Linked DNA regions of Homo sapiens: region 1 is linked to region 2. Evidence: promoter capture Hi-C in 16 types of primary human blood cells and fetal thymus (Javierre and others, 2016). All regions are on one chromosome and are shown on one strand. Each heading gives the region's core, a stretch centred on a gene start or on the middle of the fragment in contact. The rest is flanking DNA. Distances are from core to core; before and after follow the strand shown.

Region 1 (6,840 bases), core at 4,305-6,804, 130 kb after region 2:
CCTTGGGCTATACCTCAACCCAAGACCCTACGTGTGCCATTTTCTATTCGGTCACCTTGTTAGAAATATTTAAGAAGCTCTTTCTGGTAGTTCACAAAAACAGTTCCTGTGGTGCCGGCCCATTCTGCAGATTCCCCGGGTTAGATGCTGATGATATCATATTCCATGGCTCTTGTAAAAGTGCCAAATATTTTAGAATAGCCTGCAGAGCACAATGTAAATGTGCAATTATCCTAAGTTTCTCAGTCTTCCTTTTTGCCAGAATATGCCTACTGTTGTCTCGATTAAATGACTTTGGATGTTTTCAGTCCTATGCAAAAACAATATTAACTAATATGAATTTAGAGCTTTTTATTGCATAAAGAGCCCCCTCTGTATTGTTGCATTTAAGCATCGCAGCAACCCTCTGAGTTAGGTGTCATTCTCATCCTCTTTGTTGACGAGAACCTGAGTACAAACTGCTCAAGTTATGTCCTCAAGATCACACAGCTCAAAAGAGGAATATCCAGGATTTGAAACCAAATGGTCCTCCTGAGAGGTCCCACCTTTACATATTACTCTATTCTTCTTCTGGAATCATGAGGGGATAACATTCTTTGTTAAAAGGGCAAATAAAATATTTATAATCATGTCAAACAGGGTTGATTTCTGCCATGTGACATGATTCTTACTTAACTGGTGGGACTCCAGCAGCATACTGCAATCAGCTTATAAACAGCATTGACTTACACATACTCAGAGGTACACACTCATCCCAAACCAAACCATAAAGTTGATGGAATTTGTATTCCTTTTCATGGCCCTCACCTTCCACATTCTTGACCTTTCTTGCTACATTATTCCCAATTGCTTTCTAACCTTCTCCTCTTGTATAACCAGAAGAGAATTCGATGCCAGCCTTTATAGTGTGGCAGATGGATTCCACATTAGGTTGATGCAGATGAATTTCAGTCATCTGCATTATATCAACCAAGCATCTTCATTCAAGCCTTTGGTTTTATCTCTGAAGGAATAAATTTGAGTTCACTGGAATAATTCAAGGCTTTTATTTTATCTCTAATTGAATGATTTGAGTCCATTCAGTAACCACATGGCAAGATAATTTGAGGGTGGGAGGCCCTTGAAATACTCCATCTCTTCACAAGTTACTCTATTTAATGAGACTATGTGAGGGTATAGATGGCCTAAAGGAATGACACTGCATAATTTCTTTCCTTGTTTAGAGGTACTCTCCTTTGGTAGAACTAAGGCTAACAGTGGTCCCACAGTTGCTGCAGCAGGTATTTTCCAAGAGTTTCTGGGGGCAGAAAGGTACAAACCCCATTGTTATCATTGTTTTCCAAGATTGGGCCAGGTATCTAGGGCACCTGCATTCCTTCTAGACACTCAGCCCACCATCACCACCTGTACAGAGCCTTCCAGGTCAAACAAGCCATCTGTGCATTCTGACATTGTGACATTATGATAAGCAGCATTGAGTAGAAGCTTTTACAGAAATGTGACTCTTGTGACATCCTGGAATGTTATGTGTTTTGTATTTGATCTCTGATAAGAAGCTACTGAAAACAAAACTCTCTTCCTTATTAAAATAGGTGCTGCAGGCCGGGCGCGGTGGCTCACGCCTGTAATCCCAGCTCTTTGGGAGGCCAAGGTGGGCGGATCACGAGGTCAGGAGATCGAGACTACGGTGAAACCCTGTCTCTACTAAAAATACAAAAAAAAAAAAAAATTAGCCGGGCATGGTGGCGGGCGCCTGTAGTCCCAGCTACTCGGGAGGCTGAGGCAGGAGAATGGCGTGAACCTGGAAGGCAGAGTTTGCAGTTAGCCGAGATAGTGCCACTGTACTCCAGCCTGGGCGACAGAGAGACTCCATCTCAAAAAAAAAAAGAAAAAAAATAGGTGCTACAGTGAACTTTTACTTAGATTATACTCAGTTTTTTATCTGTTTATAATCTCCCACCAGACTCATAGAAGTCAAGAACTAATTTTTTTTCTTTACATCCTCTGTACTAAGTAGAATACTTGGCAGAAAGAGAGGGAGACAGAGTGCTAAGTAAATGTGGAATGAATTAATTAATGAATGACAGACTGAATAAGTATATTTATGTTGAATCTATATATAACTAAATTCTTCCAAGATCAGACGATACTGGGTGCGTTCAGGGTGGTATGGCCTTAGATGAACTTTAACCTCTATAGAAGTATGCATAGAATAATTCTCCAGTAGGTTTTATGGAATACCATAAAGTATCCTACAGAATTAGGCAGCAAAATTTGTGCTACTAGAATAAGATACAGGCCTAGGTAAAAATAATCACATTTATCTACAAAAATTTAGGATTTAGGTTATAAATACTTAGAACATTTTCCTGAACAAGTCCCAGTTGTTGAAACATTTTAAGAGTCCTGTAAAAATTTCAAAAAAATGCTTTTCTTACTCATGGCCTAAGTTGTATTAAAGAAAGCACAGTGGCCCTTCATCACTTATCACATAGGGTTTTAGTCCTGTTTGGATTATATATAACTTCACTCTACCCTTCCAACATAATATCCTTTCATTTCCCAACATGTGGCCTTTCTCCATGCACACCAGTACCCTCAGTAATCTCTTCTTATTCACCATGTTGGGTTCTGTATGGGCTTTGGAAATTCCAGTCTTCCCCTTTGTATAACCCCTCCCCAACCCTTTCTCAATCTTCTGCAATCAGCTTCTACTTACGTTCAGGGTCCAGCTCAAGTCTTTCCTTCGCCATGTCTAATTCCCTGACAACTCTTGACTTCCTATTTGTTCTTTTGCTGAGTCCTAGTACACATATTATTAGTGTCACAGTCACAACCTTATTTCATCTCTCCTTGCCCTGTTTTATTAATTTTATGTACACATGTAAACTCTTTGAGGGAAGTGATTGTGTCAAAACCTCTGAGTCCCCTGCAAAACCAAATAAAATGCTAAGCACATAAAAGGATACTCAGCAATATTGCTTATGAGAAAATAATAAAGGTTTATTTTTTAATGTTTTATAGACCTCTTCACTGATACCGTTTATACTCATTTTTTTCTCATTTTGTCTTCTCCAAAAATTAAAAATATTTGTCAAACTTCTTATGACCTTTCATATCTTCATGCTATGTCTTTACCAAATGATATCCTAAGTTGTCTGAAAGGACATTTTGTCTTCCTGTTTGGAAACTTCCTCCACATTCTTCCCCGAGACATCAACACTTCTTTTGGAAACACTCTTTGTATGGTTTCCCTTCTCGGCATGCAAAAAGCACAGTCTGTATGTTAAAGGGTTTTCACAACTTTTACATTGTGGTATGTCTGAAACCCAGGAAACTATATAGCCACGATGAAATAGATAAACAAGGAGTATACTGAAGATACTCTTAGTGGAGAGACTATTTTCCCAACTTTTCATTTAGAGATAAAAAGTGAAATGAGTAAAGGACTGAAAGATAACCTGTAAGTTTCAACCAGCACTTTTCCAGGTATAAGAGAGAATGTGAAATTGCTGACATTGGTTTTTAAAAGTTTAAACAAATAAAAGGAAATAGTACCTGTAATAGTGGCTTTTAACTGAAATTAAGATCAAAGCTCATCCTTCCCAAGTATAAAGTGCAAGCTTTCAAGATTGTTCTAATTTTTATATAAGACAACTTACTAATTATTGTCTGCTTTTTACTGGCTCATACCTCTCTGTGCAGTTACATCCATTTGAAATGTCTGTATATGTGGGGGAAAAGCATATTTTAATAGCTTTTGCTTGTAACTTGGTAGTATGACTATTTTCAGTTATTTCCATTTGTTTAGCAGCCGAACTGCTTTAATATTAATTAGAAAGGTCAGTCTATTATTCAGATCCCCACATGGCTTTATACACCGCACCTTCTAACATGACTTACTGTACTTCTCATCTATCATAAGGTACCATGTTGTAGGTATTTGGTTTCTTGATTTAAAACCTAAAGAGTTCCAGATTTTAAATGATCTCTGTCTACTTTGACAAGGGAAAATGGACTAAAGGTGTCTCTTTCTATTTTTCTTTTTCTTTTGAGACAGAGTCTCATTCTGTCGCCCAAGTTCAAGCAATTCTCCTGCCTCAGCCTCCCAAGTAGCTGGGACTACAGGCGGGTGTCACCATGCTCAGCTAATTTTTTTTGTATTTTTAGTAGAGGTGGGGTTTCACCGTGTTAGCCAGGATGGTCTCGATCTCCTGACCTCGTAATCCACCCACCTCAGCCTCCCAAAGTGCTAGGATTATAGGCATGAGCCACCGCGCCTGGCTGCCTTCTCTTTCTATTTTTTGTATGAGGAAACTGTAAAGGTAGACTGACCTCCAGTATGGATCTGGGTCACTTTGAAACTCTGCCTTTACATTTTCTGCTTTCTAATTATTCTGCTCTTCGAATTTCCATTGTATTTTTTAAAGACACGTGGGTCAAGATGGCTTTTGATAAAGAATTTCTATTCTTTAGATTTAGACTTTATAGGTACATGAGTCAATATCATGAGTACAATGATTAACCACATTGTATGTAATTCTCAAAATGTTTATTTTATTTGGATATTTTGGTTGCAGATGGCACAGCCTTACTGAGTAATTAATTGGCCAGGAGAAAAATGACCTCTTAGGGCTGGATTGATGAGGGTCATGCTAAACATCCCAAATGCCATGAAACAGAAATGAGCTCACTTCAATAGAAATTATTTGAAGAGTATATTGAGATTAGGGGAAAATAGTCATGTGTATATGCTTGTTATAGGAGCAGAGTCAACTTTATAAGCATTTTAATAGCCACTTTGTGTATCTGCTAGACCTGGGTGAGGATGATAATTATTAATAACATGGATGCTGTCATTGAAAGGAAAGAGGAAAGTAAAAGCAGTTTAGAAGATTCAATTTAAAAACAACTTTGTTTAGATACTCTATTAACTTTATGTAAAAATTTCAAGTGCCTGAAATAAAACCTTTGTGTGTGCAAGTCATTAGGGTTTGATTGACACAGTCAGATTGAACTAGCAAAACAAACTTAGTATGTTGCTTTTTTGGAATGTTTCAAGACTCCAATACTACTACTGCACTTATATTTCCCTGATTTTGGATAGGTTTATGTTTCTTAGACCAAGAGCCAACTGAAAAACTCTTAGGATAAGTGTTCAAATAATTTCCTATTTATGATTTCAAGAAAAATGTCATTTGTTACAGATTACAGACATAGCTATTTGGGGGGTATCATTAGAAATCTGATTTTTACTATAAATATGGGCCAGCCTATAATTCAAAACTCTTTATCATACTGTTCAAAATCAAACATCATTTAACATCATTTTTGTGTGTTTAGATATTTCTATATATCATCAGCTCTGAATACTTTCTTTATTCTAACATGCTTCAAAAGATCCAGAATTACTAAAATGGTATACATTCAGAAATGCACACAGCTTACAACCTTCTAATGGCAGAACTAGGGACTCAGGTCAAAAAAAGAATTGCAGTCATGCAAAAACTGGAGATTACTGTCATGTGCAGCTGAGTTTGAGATATGGCAATCTTGGGGAAAGGTAAGTTTTATCTGACTTTAAAGGACATAGAAACTCTTTAGAATCATATTTTGTTACTACAATCAAGAGACATAAAATTTTATCAGGGGCCTTCTCCTTATCTTGTAGCAGGAATGAGAAATATTTCTACACTCAGAAATCAAAACCTCATTATCCCCTCTACAAATATCTGATAACTTACGATAATTAAACCAGGAAATTTTATAATTGTAGCTGTCTTCATGTATTTGTTTCTTACATGCTGCATTGGTTGGTATCCATTCAACAAAAAAATCTGTTTAGGTAATAATACATACAGATCATTTCTCACATCTACATTTCCTTGTATAGGAGAAAAAGAACAAGTCTATCTTCTGAAACTATGTTCCTGTGATGATTTTTTTTTGAGACCGATTCTCACTCTGTTGCCTAGGCTGGAGTGCAGTGGCACAATCTCAGCTCACTGCAACCTCTGCCTCCCAGGTTCAAGCGATTCTCCTGCCTCAGACACCCGAGTAGCTGAGACTACAGGCATGAGCCAGCACGCCCGGCTAATTTTTGTATTTTTAGTAGAGACAGGGTTTCACCATGTTGGCTAGGCTGGTCTTGAACTCCTGACCTCAGGTGATCCACCCACCTTGGCCTCCCAAAGTTTCAGGATTACAGGCATGAGCCTCTCGGCGCAACCCTCTTCCTGAGATTTTTTATCAATGCTATGGATTCAAATTCATGCCTTTTATAATGTGCTTCCACTTGCTTCATGTTGTTGGCCCTTTCTAGGTGTCCTTCTGAACAGACCTTCACATGGATGATATTTGCTCCGGGAGAATGCAGCATGAACACACAGATTTGGTCACAGTAACGAATGCTCCTTTGAAGACCAGCTGAGGAGGCCGGGTGCGGTGGCTCACGCCTATAATCCCAACACTTTGGGTGGCTGAGAAGGGCAAATCACGAGGTCAGGAGTTCGAGACCAGCCTGGCCAACATAGTGAAACCCTGTCTCTACTAAAAATACAAAAATTAGCTGGGTGTGGTGGCAGGAACCTGTAATACCAGCTACTCAGGAGGCTGAGGCAGGAGAATCGCTTGAACCCGGGAGGCAGAGGTTGCAGTGAGCCGAGATCGTGCCACTGGACTCTAGCCTGGGTGACAGAGCAAGACTCCAACTTGAAAAAAAAAAAAGCTGAGGAAAGAAAGATATTATTTTAGCACGTTATTATTACTGATGTCACTTCCTCCTTCTTTGTTTCTTTTGCCTTTTTCTCATATGAAACATCATGTCATTCCTAAAGAGGA
Region 2 (6,958 bases), core at 1,091-3,590:
TGTACTAATGTAGTTCCACTGTCAAGTCTTAACATTCTTCAAACCAGTGTCTGGGGTTGATAGACTATTTGTTTGACATGGCACAATGTTTTGAATTGGGTGGGAATCTTTTCCCCCAGTTAGAAAAACAGATTTAAATAACTTGTGCTACTGAAATCATTTTTACGGAAAAATGAGATGTGAATCAGTTCAAGTTCCAGTCTAATGAGTTAATGTCTCTCACTCTCTGGCTTCATGCCATGTCTCCGTACATCTTCCTGTAGTACAGCGATTCAAAGATGTCATTGTCTCCGGGACAGTTGTAATGGCAGGCACAGGTCTTGATGAACATCATGTTCTTCTTCATGACCTCGCCGTCAGGGCACTTGAACTCCACCGGCAGGGTGGTGGTTCTGTGGGGGGTGCAGCATCGGCCGTCGGTACATACTCCACAGAATTTAGCTCGGTATGTCTTCATGCTGGTGCAGCCAGAAAGCTCAAACTTGATAGGCTTGGAGATTTTGGGAGTACGGATGCACTTTTTGCCCTTCTAAGGAAGACAAGGGAAAAGAGAGAGGAAAAAAAAAAATCAGCGACTCTACAAGAGGAGTGGCTTTCTTCAACCCTCTGTGTTTTAGTCTTCTGTTGTCTGACTTCTGTTTATATTTTGAGGGGAGGAAGTTTGAGTCTCATTTGCTATGTCCAAAAATAGCCAGAGCCTCTCTTGGAATGTCTTGAATTAACTAACCCTGTGGAAGATTTCGTAGTGGAAAACTGGTGGTTGCTATTACACAAGCTCTCATTCCAGCAAAACAGCTCAATGGTTAGATAGTTTTGGAGATAACGGGCTTATACTAACAAGCGTGGCAAGAGCCCTAAGTTGGGTCCTATCCACTGTTTTTCCTGTGAAAAATAGTTAATAGGAGCAGAACATGTACCTTAATGTTCTCTTCCAGGTCAGCTTCGCAAGGCCTGACCATGCACAGGCGGCTCTGCTTCTCTAGCCTGCAGGAGGCGTTGTCATTGGTAACCCGGGTGGAGATGCCCATCCCACAGGTCTTGGAACAGGCGCTCCACTCTGTGGTCTGGACCAGGCAGTTGGCTCTAATCATAGTTGGGTCTGGGCCAAACGTGTCTTCCAGTCGGTAAGCTGCGAGAGCAGAGCACACAAACACCATGTAAAACGCCTGGATAAGGTATTTCCCCCGTTCGGTCGGCACAGTTAGGACTCCCTCCCTGGGAGAGAATCACGACCCTGACTTAGAGGAAGACTCGACTCACCCGCGAGGGCAGGCCCAACCACGGTTTGGTCCTTGGGCTCGTCACACACCCACTCCTCGCAGCATTTCCCGGGCAGCTTGACCCTCCTCGGGAAGGGGCAGTCAGGGCTGGGCAGACGAACGTCCATGCTGCACAGGGGCATGCAGCCCACCGCCCCGTCCAGGCACGTGCACTGGTACTTGCAGCTGCTCTGGAAGGACTCTCCGCTGCGGTACACCGTACCACCGAAGATGCAGGGAGCACCATCTTTGGCTGGAGAAGAGGAAGGGAAGAGAGGGGTGGGGGATGCAGAGGTCAGGCATTGGGGCACTCTCACATCCAGAGCGTCAGGGATGCGAGTTGGGATCTGGGCTGCAGGGGGCGGGCTGGCAGCAGCTGGAGAAAGAAACTCAGTCCGAGCGGTTTCTTTTTCCAGCGGGCGGGTGGGCGTGAGGGAGGAGGCGGCCGGACACCTAGCGGTGGGGGCTGCGGGTCTTACCGGTGCACACGCCGATCTTGCGGTTGGCCGGGGAGCCGAAGTGACAGAATAGGCCCTTGTGCGGGTCGCATGGGTCGCGCTCGGTGCACAGCTCGCCCAGCTGCTTGGCGCAGACGCGGCAGCAGCCGCAGCCGTCCAGCACGAGGCTCACGCCCGCCGGGCAGCGCGGCGCCGGCTCGTCCGGGCACCGGCACGGCCCGCTGCAGTTCTGGCCGACGGCCGGCTGCAGGGAGGACAGGGCGGTCAGCGGCGCTCGGTCGGCGCGCACGCCCTCCCCGGCCGGCCCCGAGTCCCTCCCTGGCAGCCGCCGGCCGCAGCGGGGGCTCCCGGCGCTTACCCGGCTGCAGAGGGCGAGGAGGACCACGAAGGCGACGCGGACGGGGCCCATACTGGCGGCGGTCATGGTTGGCACTGCGGGCGGAGCGGAGGGCGCGGTGGCGGCGAGCGGGGAGCGGCGGGGCCTGGAGCGCTGGCGGTGGTCGGAGGTGGGGACCGGGACGCGCCGGGCTGTCGTCTCGGGGCTGTCGGCCGGGGCGGCTGCCGTCGAGCTGGAGGGTGGAGTCGCACTGGCTGTCTCCTCTCAGCGGGGAAGAGTTGTTGTGTGAGTTTGGGGCGGGCGGCCCGAGGCTTTTATACGCTCCGGGCGGCCGCGGCTCGCCAATGAGCTGAATGGAGTCCTACACAAACAGGGACATTCCTCGCATTCCTCCCCACCTTCCTGCCTCATCAACTCACACCGGATTGATCCTGACCCCTTGACACTCAGCATTCCTCCGTCTGAAAAAGCTGGCACACTCCAGCTCACAGAAAAAAAAAAAAAGGAAAAAAAAAAGCGCAGTATTTCCAGCACCAAATAGAATTTTTTTTTCCCTATCCTCTTCGCACCACTCCTGATTCATATCATTTATAAACACACTGGCAATTATTTCTTATTTCTTTTTCGAATAAGTTTGCCCTGTTCTGTCCACTGACATACATCCTTTTTAGGAAGTAGGTAGCTGAAGAGGCAAACAGCAGGAATTCCTAAAAAATTCGAAAAGGTTTCTCCCCCCCAACCCTTAGCAATGATTTGCGTTTTAGAGGCTATAGGCTCTTGAAACTCTCCAAAGAGTAGAAAAGGAGTGAGTTGCTTTTAACCATTTGAAATCCTCAAGATGCCTACCTGTAAAACCCTGAATTCTATATTTGAGATTTGATCATTTGTCACTTGAGGTAACGGTTTTGGGACAAGAAAGAGAACAAAGACGCGTGTGACTCAGGATGCAGTCTCCTGGGGCAGATTTCCAAAACTCTTGCTTAGTTTTCTCTTAATATATGTAGGAGTTTTATATAGGCAAGGACAAGGGAGGAGTGGCCATCAATGTTTCCAGAAAAAGGGATCCATTGTTCTATCAGAGCAAATGATTCTGTGTTGGGTAGGTAGGGGCTCTGGGTGTCAGGGTGGGAACACTGGGATGCAAAGGGGGTTCACCTAGGAGCATTTAAACACAGCTTCACTAGGGTCTTTGAGAAATGAGTGCATTTTCTTATATTAAAACCTATAATCTTCAAATGTGGATTGGATTTGGTTTGTCTTGTTAAAATAAGAAGTCTGATTCCATTACAAGAGCAGTGTACCCTGTTGTATCTGGATATAAACTAAGATTGACAGTGAATAATATATTTTTAGTGACTCCCCACACATCTATGAATAGTGATTGTGACTTCTCATTACCCAAGGAACATGCAGCCTGAGGGAGTGAGGTCAGGACAAGGAAAGAATAGGCTTTATTCTCCCTGGGTGTGTGCAGATGTTGAATATGGCCAATAAACCTAAGCATATCTCCATTTCTTAATATAGTGCTACTTAGCTTCACTAAAGACCCAACTAATTCACTGTGCTTTCATTTGGAATCTATGTTGTTTAGTGGCTTTTTTGTTAATACCTCCAGTTCCCATTTTATATAAAGAGAGTGATTCTAGGGCCATACCATTTTTGTATTCTGTAATGCCGCATCATTTGACATTGGTGTTACCAATGAGTAGATTCCTTTAAGTTGTTGATGCTTCAGAGCATGGGTTCAAGATAAGCATATCTGTTTGTGGTGCAAAGATCGGCTTTAGAAACAATGCATTATAGATTTATCATTTGAAAACAGCCTGTTTAAACTGATCAAATTTTTAAAGTTTCAGTACAGTCTGTTGAAAAATAGCCAAGAAGAAATATAACCACTCCAACTTCAGCATAGAGCATATCATCTGTGCACGATTACCTCGTTAAGCCAGCCACATGTTATAGAGTGTAGTTGCATGTCAATAGTGTGAATGGCCAGCAAAGGGGTGGGGGTGCCCTCTGAAGCTCAGGAAGAATTTTCGTCATTGTTATTTAATGTCCTTTCCAAGCATTCCTCAAAAAGAAGAGGCCTAAGAGTTCCTATTTAAAGAAGGAACATTCCAAGTTAACTTAATAGCCACATGTGTATTAAAGGCAACTTGGCCCTCAACTTTTTCTTCCCTTGTGGATGATTTTAAAAGTCCAAAATATGTGGGAAGCCACAGTGAAACCTTTCAAGACCTAAACCCCCAATTACATCTACCTCTAATGGTTGGAAAGGTGTGGTGGCTGGGGAAGGGTAGGGATGTGCAGTGCGAGTCTCACCTAAGGTGGGATGTGGGCTTGGTGGTGAGCTCTCCTAGCTTGCAGAGTGAGGTAGGTGGGAGAAGGGTTGGGGAATTTCTGAATCCTCAGGAGAGTCTGAAAGCTACCACCATCTTCATGCCTGCAGCAGGGAGACTCATTCATGGAGGGGATAAATTGTTGTACTGGGTTATAGTTAGATGGCCTAGGTTGTATTCTTGGAACTGCCTTTCGCAGATCTCAGGGAAGTCACACGTAGGAGCCATATTCCCATTTCTGTTTAAAAAATGAAAGTAATCATAATTTTTTTAATTTAATAGGGTTCAGTGAGGGCTGAGTAGATGAAAATTCCAGGGAATTGGTGCTTTATTTTTTTCAGATTTTCTTGATTTTTTTTCAATCTCTGTGTATAATAAGTATATTACCATTCTGCTCTGTTGTTAAAAATGTCAAAAGAAAGAATTTGGTTTTACTATAAAATTCTCATAGTCCCTCGAAGTCTCAAAAAAATCTATAGTCAGTTCCAAATAGATGATTTTAATGTTGCTTAAGAGGAAATAAGCATATTGAAATATATAGAACATATGAAATCTCAGGAAAGAAAAAGTTTCTGTGCATTATCAGGTTAGATTGAGGCTTTATGATCAAAACTCTTTTTGAAGGAGTTAAAAGACTATTATTAAGAGAGTGACACAGAGACAGACAGACACATACATGCACACACACCCAGAGAGAGAGAGAATGAGAGAAGACACCCAAGACATTCACAGACTCAGAAGTATGTTTTTATTGTGATATGGACCATCAAATGCCAGGAAACTCAAAGGGAAAGGCTGATACTCCATCCATAATTCATGCCATGGGATCTGAATTCTTGCACTATTATCAATGACTCAGCAAATGTTTGTGTGTGCCTGGGCGGTAAAGTGGGAAATAGTGGCTTCTTATAACTTCATCCAACTTTGACTTACCCCAGCCCCTTTGATTGACAGCAGGTCAGAGTTGGGAGAAAAAGATCTTTGAATTTGTGTGCAAAATGGTTAAGATGCACTAATTTTGACTTGTAAGCAAGTATTTATCTAGCAAATGCTTTTTAGAGAGCATTTTTTCCTCGTGGTAAAATGAGGAATTAACTAAGCTGGCCACTGAGTCCTGTTTACCAAGCTATATAAGGTATGTGTGTGTGTCTACTAGGGCATCATTTGTACTGGTCGTTTGGTTAAGTCTTGTAAGATGTTCAGCTGTGGATGTATTACATTCCTTCCCTTAAGTTTTTTGTTGTTTTTTCCTCCCTAAAAAAAAAAGGTTTCTTGATCAGGTATCAGACACAGAGAAAACCTGGCAGGACTACAGAAAAGTGGCCAGAGTTGGAGTGTTTGTGTACTTAAAGAAGGAATCTTGCACATTTTCAACTTTTAGTTGTAGACATTTTCTTATAAGAGCAAGTAGGAGTCAGTGCCAGCCCTCAAAGCGGAAATCAAAGCTCCCAGGGAAACATGCCGGAGGAATGTGACTCAGAGCCAAGACCCATACGCAATGCATACACGGAGCTGTCAGACTTATAGGAGGAAGTCTGGCCGTATATGGGCATCTGGACAGTGAGCGATTTGTCCTTATGGTGGGTCAGGGGGAGGTTTCTGATGTTTCTAGCGTGCCTCAAATTCAATCATGTAAATTAATTCTACAAAAAAAAATGGTATCCCAGAAGCCTTTTGTAAAATAGTAATAAATATTATTCTGAAATCTTCAGGGACCCTGGTTTGGCTGACATGACCTCCTGTTTGCTTAAGATGAAGGTTAAGGAGAGGGCGTACTTGCTGGGAGTTCATGGCGGGGAAGATAAACGCGGATGTTTACTATCTAAATTACATTCATTACCTTCATGCCTTTTCCTCCTTATAATTAGTTCTCTGACTTTCTTAGGATATTTTCTAATGCAAAGGTATTTGTCAGAAGGCAGTCAAGGCCGTTGCATGTGGTTTGTGTTTTATGTTTGCCTGTTCCTCGCTTGTCCATAGAGTTGGAGGCCAGAGGGGTGAGAAAGGAAGTTTTGTTTTGTAAGATGATATCCCTTCAACTTACTGTTTGTTTCACTTATTTTGTTAATTTGACTCTTTTTTTTTTTAAAGTAGTTTACTTAGAATCCTGTGTTGCCTCTAGTCAGCTTTTGTTCATCTAAGATAGTGTCAGATGAGGATGCTGCTAGGTAGGAATGAGCCTGGTGGTCTCTTACACTGTCCTCGACAGGTTAGAATCTCAAATTCATCACCGTTTAGCAACCAGGAGTATTTACAGCCCCTTGCTTCATCAGGGCTAAATGTGAAGCATCCCCTTGGTGATACTTAAGGTGATATTTAAGTGAGTGGGAATGAAAAACAGAGGAAATAAGCATTTCTTAAGATGTGTGATTTGGGGACACCCAATCAATAGGTTTAGGAGGAAGAGAGAATTGGGACTAGCTATCTTATCTCAAATAATAGAAGTAAGTGAAAGGATAAATATTTTGAAAGGACTAGTGTGAAATATACATGAATGTATTCCTAGGGATTCTGCTGCGGGGTGGGAAAGGGGTGCAGATTAAGCCAGACCCCATCATTCATCCC

Evidence for each region. Contacts are between HindIII fragments. The CHiCAGO score rates a contact against its expected background, and 5 or more counts as called.
Region 1: a fragment that was not itself captured here is called in contact with the fragment with the promoter of CCN2 in region 2 in 1 of 17 cell types (endothelial precursors); the score reaches 5.0 in endothelial precursors.

Annotation. Positions count from the first base shown.
Region 1 is chr6:132,078,028-132,084,867 of GRCh38, forward strand. The region is part of intron 2 of CCN2-AS1 (CCN2 antisense RNA 1); the gene reads left to right. Among named protein-coding and RNA genes, the nearest start is that of MIR548AJ1, 34 kb to the right of the region's middle. The HindIII fragment of the contact is 3,866 bases long and covers 3,622-6,840 here.
Region 2 is chr6:131,949,032-131,955,989 of GRCh38, forward strand. CCN2 (cellular communication network factor 2) reads right to left here and starts at 2,341. Exons shown (of 5, transcript NM_001901.4): 1 at 2,076-2,341; 2 at 1,739-1,961; 3 at 1,261-1,512; 4 at 918-1,129; 5 at 1-529. The coding sequence starts at 2,141. The coding sequence ends at 233. The region is part of intron 2 of CCN2-AS1 (CCN2 antisense RNA 1); the gene reads left to right. The HindIII fragment of the contact is 12,519 bases long and covers 1-6,958 here.